2 separate regions of the Homo sapiens genome follow, and region 1 is linked to region 2. Evidence: promoter capture Hi-C in 16 types of primary human blood cells and fetal thymus (Javierre and others, 2016). All regions are on one chromosome and are shown on one strand. Each heading gives the region's core, a stretch centred on a gene start or on the middle of the fragment in contact. The rest is flanking DNA. Distances are from core to core; before and after follow the strand shown. Region 1 overlaps MCPH1 (microcephalin 1). Region 2 holds the start of MCPH1 (microcephalin 1).

Region 1 (5,924 bases), core at 2,894-5,393, 120 kb after region 2:
ACTGTGTTGTTTGTGGGTTTGTTCCCTTCCTTCCCTGTTGTATGGCTTCTAGGGCGTTAGGGACATTAACTAATTTTCAGGGTTGATTTAACACAGCATTAATGAATTAGAAAGGTTTCTTTGGAAAGCATTATGTTGAATAGCACAATATTTATCTTTTCCGTTCATAATCAAGATACATGTTACTGTTTCAAGTTCCAGGTCTTTAAAACCCTAATGCTTGTATTTTTAAAGTGTTTTTCTTTGATACTGTTTTAAATACTTAGGATAATACTCAATTTAAAGAGATAATACTTCCAAGAGCCTCGAAAATTTCCACTTTGGTACAGTATCCACTGTATTCTCTGTAGTTATTTGTGTTGGTTCAATATGTAGCTGCTTTTACATTTATATGCAAACATATTTATAGACATTTAATATATACAGTTATCCAGTAGTTACATAACACTTCACCACACTGATTCTCCTGTAATATCATTCTTCCCTATCAAATGTTTAAGAGAAGCCACATTGAAATATTCTCCGGAAGGGTTTTTTTTTTTCCTTATCTAAAGTTCAGTGTCTCCCAAAGCACCTTCAGGAGTCAGGCTCTCTGAGTGAGGCTGCAGAACTAGGAATGACTGAGGTAAGCTGTGTTGTGGCTTTGCCTGCTGTGAGTACTGACTGTCCACTCACGTTACATGCAGTAATTGGACATATGCCTTGAAGTGAACTCCGCTGCTGGAGAAGAAAATGAACACTGTCTTTATGGTGTGTTTCGAGTCTTCCAGACTGCGTTAGATGAGGTTAGAATCGCCTTCCCCAGCGGTTCTCATGGTGTGGACCTCAGAATCCTGCGTGTCCCTCAGACCATGTCACCAAGTCCACAGGTTGAAACTGTTTTCACGATGCTAAGACACCACCGGTCTGTGGCACTGTGTTAGCGTTTGCTCAGATAGAGCAAAAACCATGGTGGGTAAAACTGCCACCATCCCCGTGTGAGGCAGGGCAGCGGTAGCTAACTGTACAAGTCACTATGCAGTCACACACAAAAAAGAAAGGAACAATAATATCACTGAAAAATGACTTTGACACAGCAGTAGAAATTATTAATTTCATGACACCTCTATGGCTGATGCACTATGGTTGTTCAACCTTCAGTTTTTGGAAGATACTTTCTTTAAGGAAATGAGTCTGACACCTCAGGAAAAACAACTGACAGTATGCATTATTCAAGCAAAATGCAAGGAGAATGTATTTCTTGCCGAAGATAAGATAGACATTTCTACATCATTCATATGCAGCTTTTGTATTTTCTGCACAGCAGCGGCACTTAGAGCCCTTGGCAAGCACTCTAGGCGAGGTAGCTGCCCAGTAACTATGGCTTTGTACTGTGTGAGGCTGGGGAAGATCTTTGGGGAGAGACTTCTGCTCTCTGGTTCCTCACTCACTAAAGTGGCCTGCCTAGAGCCAGGGAGTTAGTAAGGGGAGACGAATACCTCACCTTGATCTCTTCTGTAGAATTAGGGAATGTTAACGTGTAGATGCCATTCGTGGTGTGTCCTGATTTGAATACTTCAGCACAGTCTCTGAAGCTGATTTGTTCTTCTTTAGCAACAGTGGGGTCCTTAGCTGCTTTTAAAAAATAGTAAGGCATTTAAACGGAGTTCATGAAAAGACAAAGACTTGTTATTTCAAGAGCCAATCATTTGGTGAGTTTTATTACTTTGGAATTCTTAAGTAAGCAAAAGGCTGTACCACTTTTTTAACCTTTCTAGAAAGTTTCCTTTCAGCCTGTTTTCTTCTTAATTCTCAAAAGATTAATACTTACTTTTTGGTCATTAATTCCATGTAATTAAAATACTTCAAATAATCCAAACTTCCTTTGCTGATGATCAATTACATGTAATGAAAGTACTTCACAATCACATAAATTAAATTATTACTTTTGAAGATCTTTCATCTTGAGCAGAATAGGGTAAACTTAGTATGGAAGAATTTAAAAAGAATGTCCCTAAACACTGTTATCTGTATCATGACCCCATTGCCTGCCCCTTCAGGCCATTATCCCACTGAGGACATAGTGGGGTGCAGTGACACATCTCAGCTTACCGCATCCTCCTCCTCCCAGGTTTAAGTGATTCTCCTACCTCAGCCTCCCAAGCAGCTGGGATTTCAGGTGCCCACCACCAAGCCCAGCTAATTTTTGTATTTTTAGTAGAGACAGGATTTCACCATGTTGGCCACGCTGGTCTCCAACTCCTGTCCTCAAGTGATCTGCCTGCCTCAGCCTCCCAAAGTGCTGCAATTAGAGGCGTGATCCACCACACCTGGCCCTTCCCTCCAATATATAAGAGACGCTGCAAAGTGAAACAATAATAAGGAAGGCAAAATGTGCTTAAGAACCTGGCAAGATAAGGGAACTAGCATCTCTTAAGTGCCATTGTATTATCTCATTTAATCTTAATGGCCATCCCATGGGTCTGATATTATTTTTCCCATGTAAAACCTAAATAAATGAATATCGGCTGTGGTTTAGTAATTTGCCCAGTCTCATCCTTCTAATTAATGATGGAACTAACTAAAAGTAGGCTCTTTACTGCCATGAATCAAAAGTATGCTTGGGGTGTTTGCTTCATAATAATTAGTATAACATATATTTCCCCTTCTCTTCTTCCTTCATTTTAATTGGTAGATATTTCATATGAAATATATGAGAAATAGCGCCTTTTCTGAAAGGTGAGAATTTTTTAGTCTTTTGAGTGTTTTACTGACTAAAGGTTATTAACGCTGAAGAAAGCATGATATGTAAACTTACAGTTTGATGTGGACATCATAGTCAGTAAGTTATTAACTGTCTCCATGAGATCATGTTGCTGCTTCTGAAGAACTGAATTATTCACCGTGGCAGTCACTATTTTTTTTTCTAGTTCTTCAATGATGGAATTTTGCTTGGATACTAACACCTGTAGCTGATCTTTCTCTTCTTTTATTGACTGTAGTTGGATGATGTGCTTGTCTTCCATAGCTAGCACCTTCTTTTCTAGGAAACTTGTAAGGAAAAGAATTGTTAGTTAGTGAAGGCTATTCTAATGAAATATTTTATATTTATTGAATTTCTACTTCTCCAAGGTACTCTGTTAAGATATTGTAGTGGTTATAAAGTAATATGATGTTACCAGAGCCCTAAGGAATCTCTGAAACTTGCTGAGAAGATTAGATATATAAATGTGTGTATATATGTAAACGTATAAGCATATATGTATGTACATGCAGACTTATGCATACACACAAGAAAAGGTACCCCATCTGGTCCAGGATAGGTGGGATATGGGTGTTTTTTGTATTAGATGCTGCAGCGCTCAGAAGAAAGGTGCTGCTCTTTCAAGCTTAGTGCTCATGAAGTGCTTTTTTGAGAAGGGAGAGTTTCAACTGGGCTGGACCCTTGGGTAGGATATTAGCTTTCTCCTAAACTATTTATATTTTAATATTAATCCTAATGATAATAATAGCACTTAATGCTATGTGAGAAATACTCCTTCATGGGGAGGTGAATACTTCTCCCAGACTCAAGTACTGGCTTACCAGCCCTGCGACTTGGAACAGTTTACTTAGTCACCCTATGCGTTAATGTCCTCACCTGTTAATTAGGATACTATCACCTAGGTCATGGGGTTGGTGTGAGGAACAAATGGGTTTTAAAATGTAAATGCTGGCCGGGCGCAGTGGCTCACGCTTGTAATCCCAGCACTTTGGGAGGCCGAGGCGGGCGGATCACGAGGTCGGGAGATTGAGAGTATCCTGGCTAACACGGTGAAACCCCGTCTCCACTAAAAATACAAAAAATTCTCCAGGCGTGGTGGCGGGCGCCTGTAGTCACAGCTACTCTGGAGGCTGAGGCAGGAGAATGGCGTGATCTCGGGAGGCGGAGCTTGCAGTGAGCTGAGATCATGCCACTGCACTCCAGCCTGGGCGACAGAGCGAGACTCCGTCTCAAAAAAAAAGAAAAAAAAATGTAAACGCTTAGACTAGCGCCTGTCATACATTAACAGTCAATGAATGTTTGTTAACGTTAATATAGACATTATTATTCCCATTTCCAATGAGGAAATTGAAACTTAGGGACATTGAGGGCCAGGCTCAGTGGCTCACACCTATAATCCCAGCACTTTGGAAGGCTGAGGCAGGTGTATCACTAGAGTCCAGGAGCTTGAGAGCAGGCTGGCCAACATGGTGAAACCCTCTCTCTACTAAAAATACAAAAATTAGCCAAGCGTGGGGGTACATGAATGTAATCCCAGCTACTCAGGAGGCTGAGGCAGGAGAACTGCTTGAACCCGGGAGGTGGAGGTTGCAGTGAGCTGAGATTATGCCATTGCACTCCAGCCTGGGCAACAGAGCGAGACATCGTCTCAAAAAAAAAAAAGAAAAGAAAAGAAATGTAGGAAGAATGAATCACATACCTAAAGTCACACACAGCAGGTGGCAGGGGCAGAATACAATCCCAGAACTTTCTGACTCTGAAATCTGCTTCTCTCCTTTTAATGTGGCCCCATTCCTTCTCTAAAAAATCTAACCAGCGCTATGGCATGTACTTAATACATAACAGTTAATATGTGAGCCAAGCCCTTGAAAAGTTTTTTTTTTTCTTTTTTTGAGATGGAGTCTCGCTCTGTCACCCAGACTGGAGTGCAAGGGTGCCATCTTGGCTCACTGCAACCTTCACCTCCCAGGTTCAAGCTATTCTCCTGCCTCAGTCTCCCGAGTAGCTGGGACTACAGGCGCATGTCACCATGTCAGGCTAACTTTTTGTATTTTTAGTAGAGATGGGCTTTTACCGTGTTAGCCAGGGTGGTCTCGATCTCCTGACCTCGTGATCCGCCCGCCCCTGCCTCCCAAAGTGCTGGGATTACAGGCATGAGCCACCACGCCTGGCAGAAAAGCTTTTTAAAAATTATTTAGAGAGCTGGTAAAATTATGCCATGTAAGTCCTAAGATACTTTATTAATGGTTATATAGTTTGCCTTCCTAATTTCAACTTATAAACATACATTGCTATAAATATGTTCAATGAAGAGCATACCACTTTTAAACTAAAAATAGTTCCTGTCCATTAAGCCAGAGGAAACAAATCCAAGAGAGTAGAGACTATGTATTTGAGAATGTTAACTGTTTCCCAGGAACAAACTCAAAGACATGCACAGTCAAGGTATTTGGCAGGGTTTTTTGTTTTTTGTTTTGAGATGGAGTCTCGGAGTCTCGCGCTGTGGCCTGGGCTGTTGTGCAGTGGCGCGATCTCAGCTCGCTGCAACCTCCGCCTCCCGGATTCAAGCAGTTCTCCTGCCTCAGCCTCCTGAGTAGTTAGGATTACAGGTGTGCCACCACGCCCAGCTAATTTTTTGTATTTTTAGTAGAGACGTGGTTTCATTATGTTGTCCAGGCTGGTCTCGAACTCCTGACTTCCTGATTCGTCCACCTCGGCCTTCCAAAGTGCTGGAATTACAGGCATGAGCCACCGTGCCTGGCTGGCATTTTTTTTTTTTTTTAATAAGATACAAGAGGAAAATTGGATAGCCTGACACTACATTATTCAGCACCTAAAGAGGCTTTCTGTGATAATTGCAGGAAAAGCAGCAACTAAAGATGTTTCAATATCTTCATTTTGTTTGTACAAGGCCAGTAAATAAAGCTTTCAAAATATAGACACTTTTAAAAATAGAAAAACAGTGACCAGATGTCAGATTCCTCTCTCTGACATTTTCCTTCCAATATAAAGTTTAGTACACATGAATTTGCACATTGCAGAGTTTTGTTTTAAAGGAAGGGGACCTCATATTCCCTTTTTTGAGTCCCGTATAAGTCAGCTGTCTTATTTAATAATGAAATATGTCAATGATGGCATCTTTATGTTTCAGAATTATTTTCTGTCTACTAACAAGTTACCA
Region 2 (6,303 bases), core at 3,804-6,303:
GATGTGCACAGAATTAGACGTGACCAGACATTTTTAAGAAACTAAGGTTGACTTGATGGAGCCAATGCTTACAAAGCTCTGCTGAAATAATTGACCTGGTGCCTTACCTGACTTACAGGGTTCCAGGCTTACAGGTGAGTAAGATGGGTTACTTACTCGCAGGCCCAGGGCCTTAAGATGTTTTGGAAACCTCAAGAAGAGCAACAGTTTTAGGGTCTGAATGGATCCCCACATTTCTCTATCTGAAACTACAGATAGTATAGGTGTAGTCTTTTTTTTTTTTTTTTTTTTTTTTTTTTGAGATGGAGTCTCACTCTGTCCCCCAGGCTGGAATGCAGTGGTGCAATCTCGGTTCACTGCAAACTCTGCCGCCCAGGTTCATGCCATTCTCCTGCCTCAGCCTCCCGAGTAGCTGGGACTACAGGCACCCGCCACTACGCCCGGCTAATTTTTTTGTATTTTTAGTAAAGACGGGGTTTCACCGGGTTAGGCAGGATGGTCTTGAACTCCTGACCTTGTGATCCACCCGCCTCAGCCTCCCAAAGTGCTGGGATTACAGGCGTGACCCACCACGCCTGGCTGTGTAGGTGTAGTCTTAAAACTCTAATCTGAGATTCCTTATAAAAGTTCCAGCCAAGCAAACCTAAAAAGGCTCCTGTGGTCAATTATCATTCTTGCTGGACTTATGTAAATGATCAGGCCAAATTTAATGAGACAAGACTTATTTTGTAAACAAGAGTAATCTTACTTTGTTTATCTTTGATCTCAGTGGTAGTAATTATACAGAGAAATTTTATGTTTCAATGGCAAACTATAACCCAGTTGTGTGAGTTATCAGACTCTAGTCTTGTTCATTGTCTTTGAGCAATTTTTTTACCTCTTTAAAAGCTGGATCCTGCCGGTCAGGCACGGTGGCTCACGCCCGTAATCCCAGCACTCTGGGAGGCCGAGGCCGGGGAATCACCTGAGGTCGGGAGTTCGAGACCAGCCATGACCAACATGGAGAAACCCCATCTCTACTACAAATACAAAATTAGCCCACAATCCCAGCTACTTGGGAGGCTGAGGCAGGAGAATCGCTTGAATCTGGGAGGTGGAGGTTGCAGTGAGCCGAGATTGCACCACTGCATTCCAGCCTGGGCAACAAGAGTGATACTCAGTCTCAAAAACAAACAAACAAAACAAAAAACAAAACAAAACCTGGATCCTGCCATCTTACATATTTTGTCAGTAATCAGTATTTCCAATTTTCCTCCCACTCTACTGACTTGACGTCACTGAGAACTAAAACTGATTCCTTCTCAAAGCCTTGCAAGCTGAAGCTGGATGGCTAGACAGAAACTTCAAAAGACTTATCACAACACGTGGGTCTTTCAAATATTTCCCCAGAACACCTGCATCTTCCAGACTGTGCTCTAGGAAATAACCATGATGGCAACACTACCTACCACTACCATCCTCACTAAAGATAGCTGGAGCCCAACATCTAGAAAATTTCATAACTGGCTTACCCTCTAGACTGGGTTTATCGTCTGCTCTGAACATTAATCATTGTTTTTGTTTCCTTGTTCTAATCTATGTTTTTCCCCCTTTTACAGATCTCTCATCTTACAATTTCTAACTCAAATCATCTCCCCACAGCAATCAACTTAGCTTCTTTTTTTTGTTAATGAAATTTCTAGGGAAGTTTCAGATGGAGAAATGTGTGGACCATTCAGGCCCTAAAAGTTGGTATAAAGATTATTTTACTGTGAAAATATTTGATCTAAGAAAGACGCATCAAGAAATTTTATTTGAACTTCCCTTATTTCACTAAAGCAGAGCCCCCAGAAAATACAGCTGCCATTGGCCTCCCTCTGAGGAAGTTTCCTGTAAATTCCACTACTGTAGAGACAGATTGCCCATTCTCATAAGCATCCAAAAGCCCAAAAGAACCTTCCACAACTTCCTACTGAAACTCCAAAATCTCCCAACACATTTTGTTAAGTGGATCTATAAACCTTTATTTCTATTTAGTGAGTTACTCTAAACCTTGTCTTTTCTCCTGTTAACCTGTTGTTATCAGTTAATTTGCAGGTCTTCAAACACAGGACCGACATTGAATGAGGAAAAGCTTTCCTTCCAACATAGACAATACGACTACCTGTAGAACATCATTTTGAATGTACAAAAAATTATTAAGCAGATTTAGCAAGTTTTCAGGACATGAGATCAATTGCAGATATCAACTATATTTCCATATATTAGCAACAATCAGAAACAAATGAAAAAATCACCATTTACGATATTATCAAAAAACACAAGACCTTGCACAGTGGCTCATGCCTGTAATCCCTACACTTTGGGAAGCTGAGGTGGGAGGATTGCTTGAGCCCAGGAGTTCAAGACCAGCCTGGGCAACATAGTGGGACTCCGCCTCTACAAAGAATTTAAAAAATGAATTGGGCATGGTCATGTGTACTTGTAGTCCCAGCTACTCAGGAGGTTGAGGTGGGAGGATAGCTTGATCCCAGGAGGGTCGAGGCTTCAAGATGAGCCATGATCACACCATTGCACTTCAGCCTGGGAGACAGAGTGAGATCCTGTCTCAAAAAAAAAAAAAAAAAAAAAAGAAGAAAAAAAGAAAAACAAAATAAAAAAACAAATACTTAGGTTAAAATCTAACAACAGTTATATTTTTTTTTTTTGAGATGGAGTCTCGCTCTGTTGCCCCAGGTGGAGTGCAGTGGCAAGATCTCTGCTCACTGCAAGCTCTGTCTCCCGGGTTCATGCCATTCTCCTGCCTCAGCCTTCCAAGTAGCTGGGGCTACAGGCGCATGCCACCACGCCCGGCTAATTTTTTGTATTTTTAGTAGAGATGGGGTTTCACTGTGTTAGCCAGGATGGTCTCAATCTCCTGACCTTGTGATCGGCCCGCCTTGGCCTCCCAAAGTGGCAGGCGTGAGCCACTGCGTCTGGCCAGAGAAATTTTAAAAGACCTAAATGTTAATGGGTCAGAAGATTCAATATGGTTAAAATGTCAATTCTCCCCAAATTCATCTGTAGAGTCAACACAATCTCAATCAAAATCCCAGCAGTATTTTTTTGTGCAAAATGAGAAGTCGACTCTAAGATTTAAAAGGAAATCTGAAGAATCTAGAAGATACAAAATAACCTTGAAAAATAAAGTTGTAGGACATAAACTATCTGATTTCATCACTTATTTATATAGCTACAATAATCAAAACAGCATGGTGCTGGCAGCAAAAAGACAAATAGCTCAATGGAACACAATAGGAAGCCTAAAATGAAACACATACATATGCAACACAGATTTTGATGTAAGCACAAAGGAAATGCAGTAGAGACAAAAATAACTTTTTAATAAATGATGCTGGAACATTTGGATATGTATACATGCAAAAAAATGAACTTTGGTCCCTATCCCATACCGTATACAAAAATTAATTAAAAGCAGATCTTATCCTTTGAGTCCAGTAGGTTGAGGCTGCAGTGAGCTGTGATTACACCACTGCATTCCAGCCTGGGCAACGGAGTGAGAAACTGCCTGGAGAAAAAAAAAAAAAAAAGTAGAACCTAGACCTGATATACAACCTAAAGCAGTAATATTTCTAGAAGAAATCCTAGGAGAAAATATTTGTGATCGTGGAGATGAAGAATCTATCAAATACTAAACTTTTTTTACCACCTTGACCAAAAGTAATTGGTTTATATACTTCATCATATCATTTAATTCAAAATCTACAGAGATCAATGTCACTTTCTCAGTAAAAGTACGTGAGTCTTCAATGATGCCCTGAACTCACACTCCCAAGTAAACCATAACACCATATTTCCAGAGTAGAGTTTATTAGAACAATAACTGGTGATAATGATAAATATTGATCAAAGACTGAGCCTAGGAAGTGGGTTTTTTGAGGCTGCATATACTCAAGGCAATTCTTCAGAACCACAGAGGGCTCATTGGATCCTATTAAAAGCTGAGAGTGAATGAATAAACAGATAAAACAGAGACCTGAGTAGACGGTAGTCGATATTCTTTTACATGTATTCTACCTCTAGATTCCATAGAAAGAACTAAAAGTACATGAATTTCACTACCAACATCTCCATCAGTTACCAGCTGTATCACCTTGGATCAGTCAGGTAACCTCCCGCGAATCTGGTTGCTTCCGGGGCAGGGGATCCGCGGGCTGCAGGTTTGAGCCTGGTTGCCGGCAGGGTGGAGCAGCTGGAGGGCCAAGCCTTTGAGCTCCAGGGGGGGTGGCCGGGACAGTGGGTAGTGCCAGCCGATCGGCGTCCTGGGGATTGCCTGAATGTGAGGTCTGGGTTCACCCCGCGGTGACCTGAGTCCTGGGATGCCCCTACAGGGATTTGCTGCCTCAGGGATCCGAAGTCTCTTTCATTCCCTTACTGGGGATTTGAGGTCTGGAGGTACTCCTGCGGGGGTCTGAGATCTCGGGGTCACCCTGTGGGGGTCTGAAGCCTCGGGGTCCCCGCGTGGGGTCTGAGGTATCAGAGTCCCCTCCGTTGGGTCTGAGGTCTCGGGGTCCCCCATCCCCGGGATCGGAGGTCCGGCTCCCCGGAGCAGGCAGGGCGGTGCGTCTGGCCCTGAACAGTAACGTGGCGCGCCAGCCCCAGGTGGTGTCGGGCTAGGGGGGCATAACGGTGCCGAAAGTCCGCACAAAGCCGTCCGCTGGGGTCCCGCCGCGTCCGCGAGGGAATGACTGTGCCCCCTCCCCTTCCTGATCCTCAGCTCAGGTGAGCCCAGATGAGGCGCCGGGTAGCTTCTAAGTCACTAATGGAAATAGAAGGCTAATTCAGGGGTTAGGGGCCGTCGTCCTCCTTACTCCCAGGAGAAGAGAAAAACCCACGGCCCAGCAGCCAGAGGCGCGGCGAGGCGGAATCGGGCCCCCTCCCCGGGGGCTCAGCTCCCTCCAGCCTCCCGCCTCACCTACAGAGAAATCCCGGAAACGCGGATTCAGCGGAGCGCGGTGACGGCGGCGCGCTCACCCCGCGCATGCCCAGTGCCCGCGCGCGCCGCCAGGCTCGCAAGCACCGCGTAGGCCAGCTGGCCGGATCCCGCCGTCTGTCATGGCGGCCCCCATCCTGAAAGGTGAGGTACTTCCTGCTGCCTGCTCCAGCAGCGGGAGTTTGAGGACCGGCACCCCTCGTCGCGGGCGCACTCGGGGGATCCCGTGGGAGGAGCCCCGCTCGCCCCTCCCTCGCTGCCTGTCTCCCCCAGACCCCCTGCCGCCTCCTTCCTCCCCCGCTGCCTGTCCCACCAAAACCCCCTGCTCCTGCTCTCTCCCCCGCTGCCTGTCCCCCCAAAACCCCCGGCTGCCTGCTTCGTCTCCCGTGCTCCCTGTCCCCCCAAACCCCCGACTGCCTGCTTCCTCCCCCGTACTGCTTGTGCCCCAACCCCCGTGCTGCTAGTTCCCCTCAATCCCCCGCTGCCTGCTCCCTCCCCCATGCTGCCTGTCCCCCAAATCCCGCCTTTCCCCCTACCTGCTTTCACCCCTGCTGCCTTAGTCCCTGGATCTGGGGCTCACTGGCAGGCAGAGTCCTGCCCTCCGGAAGTTGGTGTGGGGCCCTCCTGGGTCTGGTCCTGTTCGACCCCCTCTGAGGCCCACCTGGAGGAGCGGCAGTTGAGTTTCTATGCTAATTGTTCCAATAATAGGAGCCGCCTTTTACTGCGGAGTCTTTGTGTGCCAGGCGCTGTGCTTAGGCTAGTATGGTATTGTCTGATTTTTTTAACCGCTCTATCAACTCTCTTATATCATTTTACAGGCAGAAACTAAGGCATCGGACGTTTAGGTGACTCTCCCTGTGTGTGGCTAGTCAGTGCTGACAGGGCCTTAGACCGGAGCTGCTGTCCTAACCAGTATATGATACCGCACGCAGTCCCACCCTCTGTGCACCTGGAAGAGCCCAGGAGAGGGGAATAGCGGACACGTGTCTTGTAGAGTTTGACCGTGAGAAAAAAGGGGCCTGTATTGTGGGGCCTGGAGTCATAAAACCTCATAGCCAAAAGTAAAGACTAGAGGCTTTATACAAAGTCTGTAATCAGATGTGGCTATTTTTCTAATGTTAGTATTTTGTTAAATTAACCTGGTTTTCTTTTAGCGTTACCCCCAATCATTGACCAACGGCACACCTGGAAAATGCTTTTAAACATCAGGTTTTGAGAAGAGGATATCCACTAGAACAGGGGTCCACTCACTATGCCCCCCAGGCCATATCTAGCCTGCTGCCTGTTTTTGTAAGGGTCTACGAGCTAAGAATGTCTTTTACATTTTTAAG

The links. Contacts are between HindIII fragments. The CHiCAGO score rates a contact against its expected background, and 5 or more counts as called.
Region 1: a contact is called between a fragment that was not itself captured here and the fragment with the promoter of MCPH1 in region 2, in 4 of 17 cell types (activated CD4 T cells, total B cells, total CD8 T cells and 1 more). The highest score is 5.6, in activated CD4 T cells.

Annotation. Positions count from the first base shown.
Region 1 is chr8:6,518,381-6,524,304 of GRCh38, forward strand. The region is part of intron 12 of MCPH1 (microcephalin 1); the gene reads left to right. ANGPT2 (angiopoietin 2) reads right to left here. Exons shown (of 9, transcript NM_001118887.2): 4 at 2,798-3,030; 5 at 1,484-1,611. Among named protein-coding and RNA genes, the nearest start is that of ANGPT2, 42 kb to the right of the region's middle. The HindIII fragment of the contact is 1,554 bases long and covers 3,367-4,920 here.
Region 2 is chr8:6,401,574-6,407,876 of GRCh38, forward strand. MCPH1 (microcephalin 1) reads left to right here and starts at 5,054. Exons shown (of 14, transcript NM_024596.5): 1 at 5,054-5,116. The coding sequence starts at 5,095. It overlaps MCPH1-DT (MCPH1 divergent transcript), which reads right to left and starts at 4,975. Exons shown (of 2, transcript NR_040040.1): 1 at 4,133-4,975; 2 at 1,983-3,547. RefSeq lists silencers at 4,796-4,875, 5,136-5,315. The HindIII fragment of the contact is 9,682 bases long and covers 2,112-6,303 here.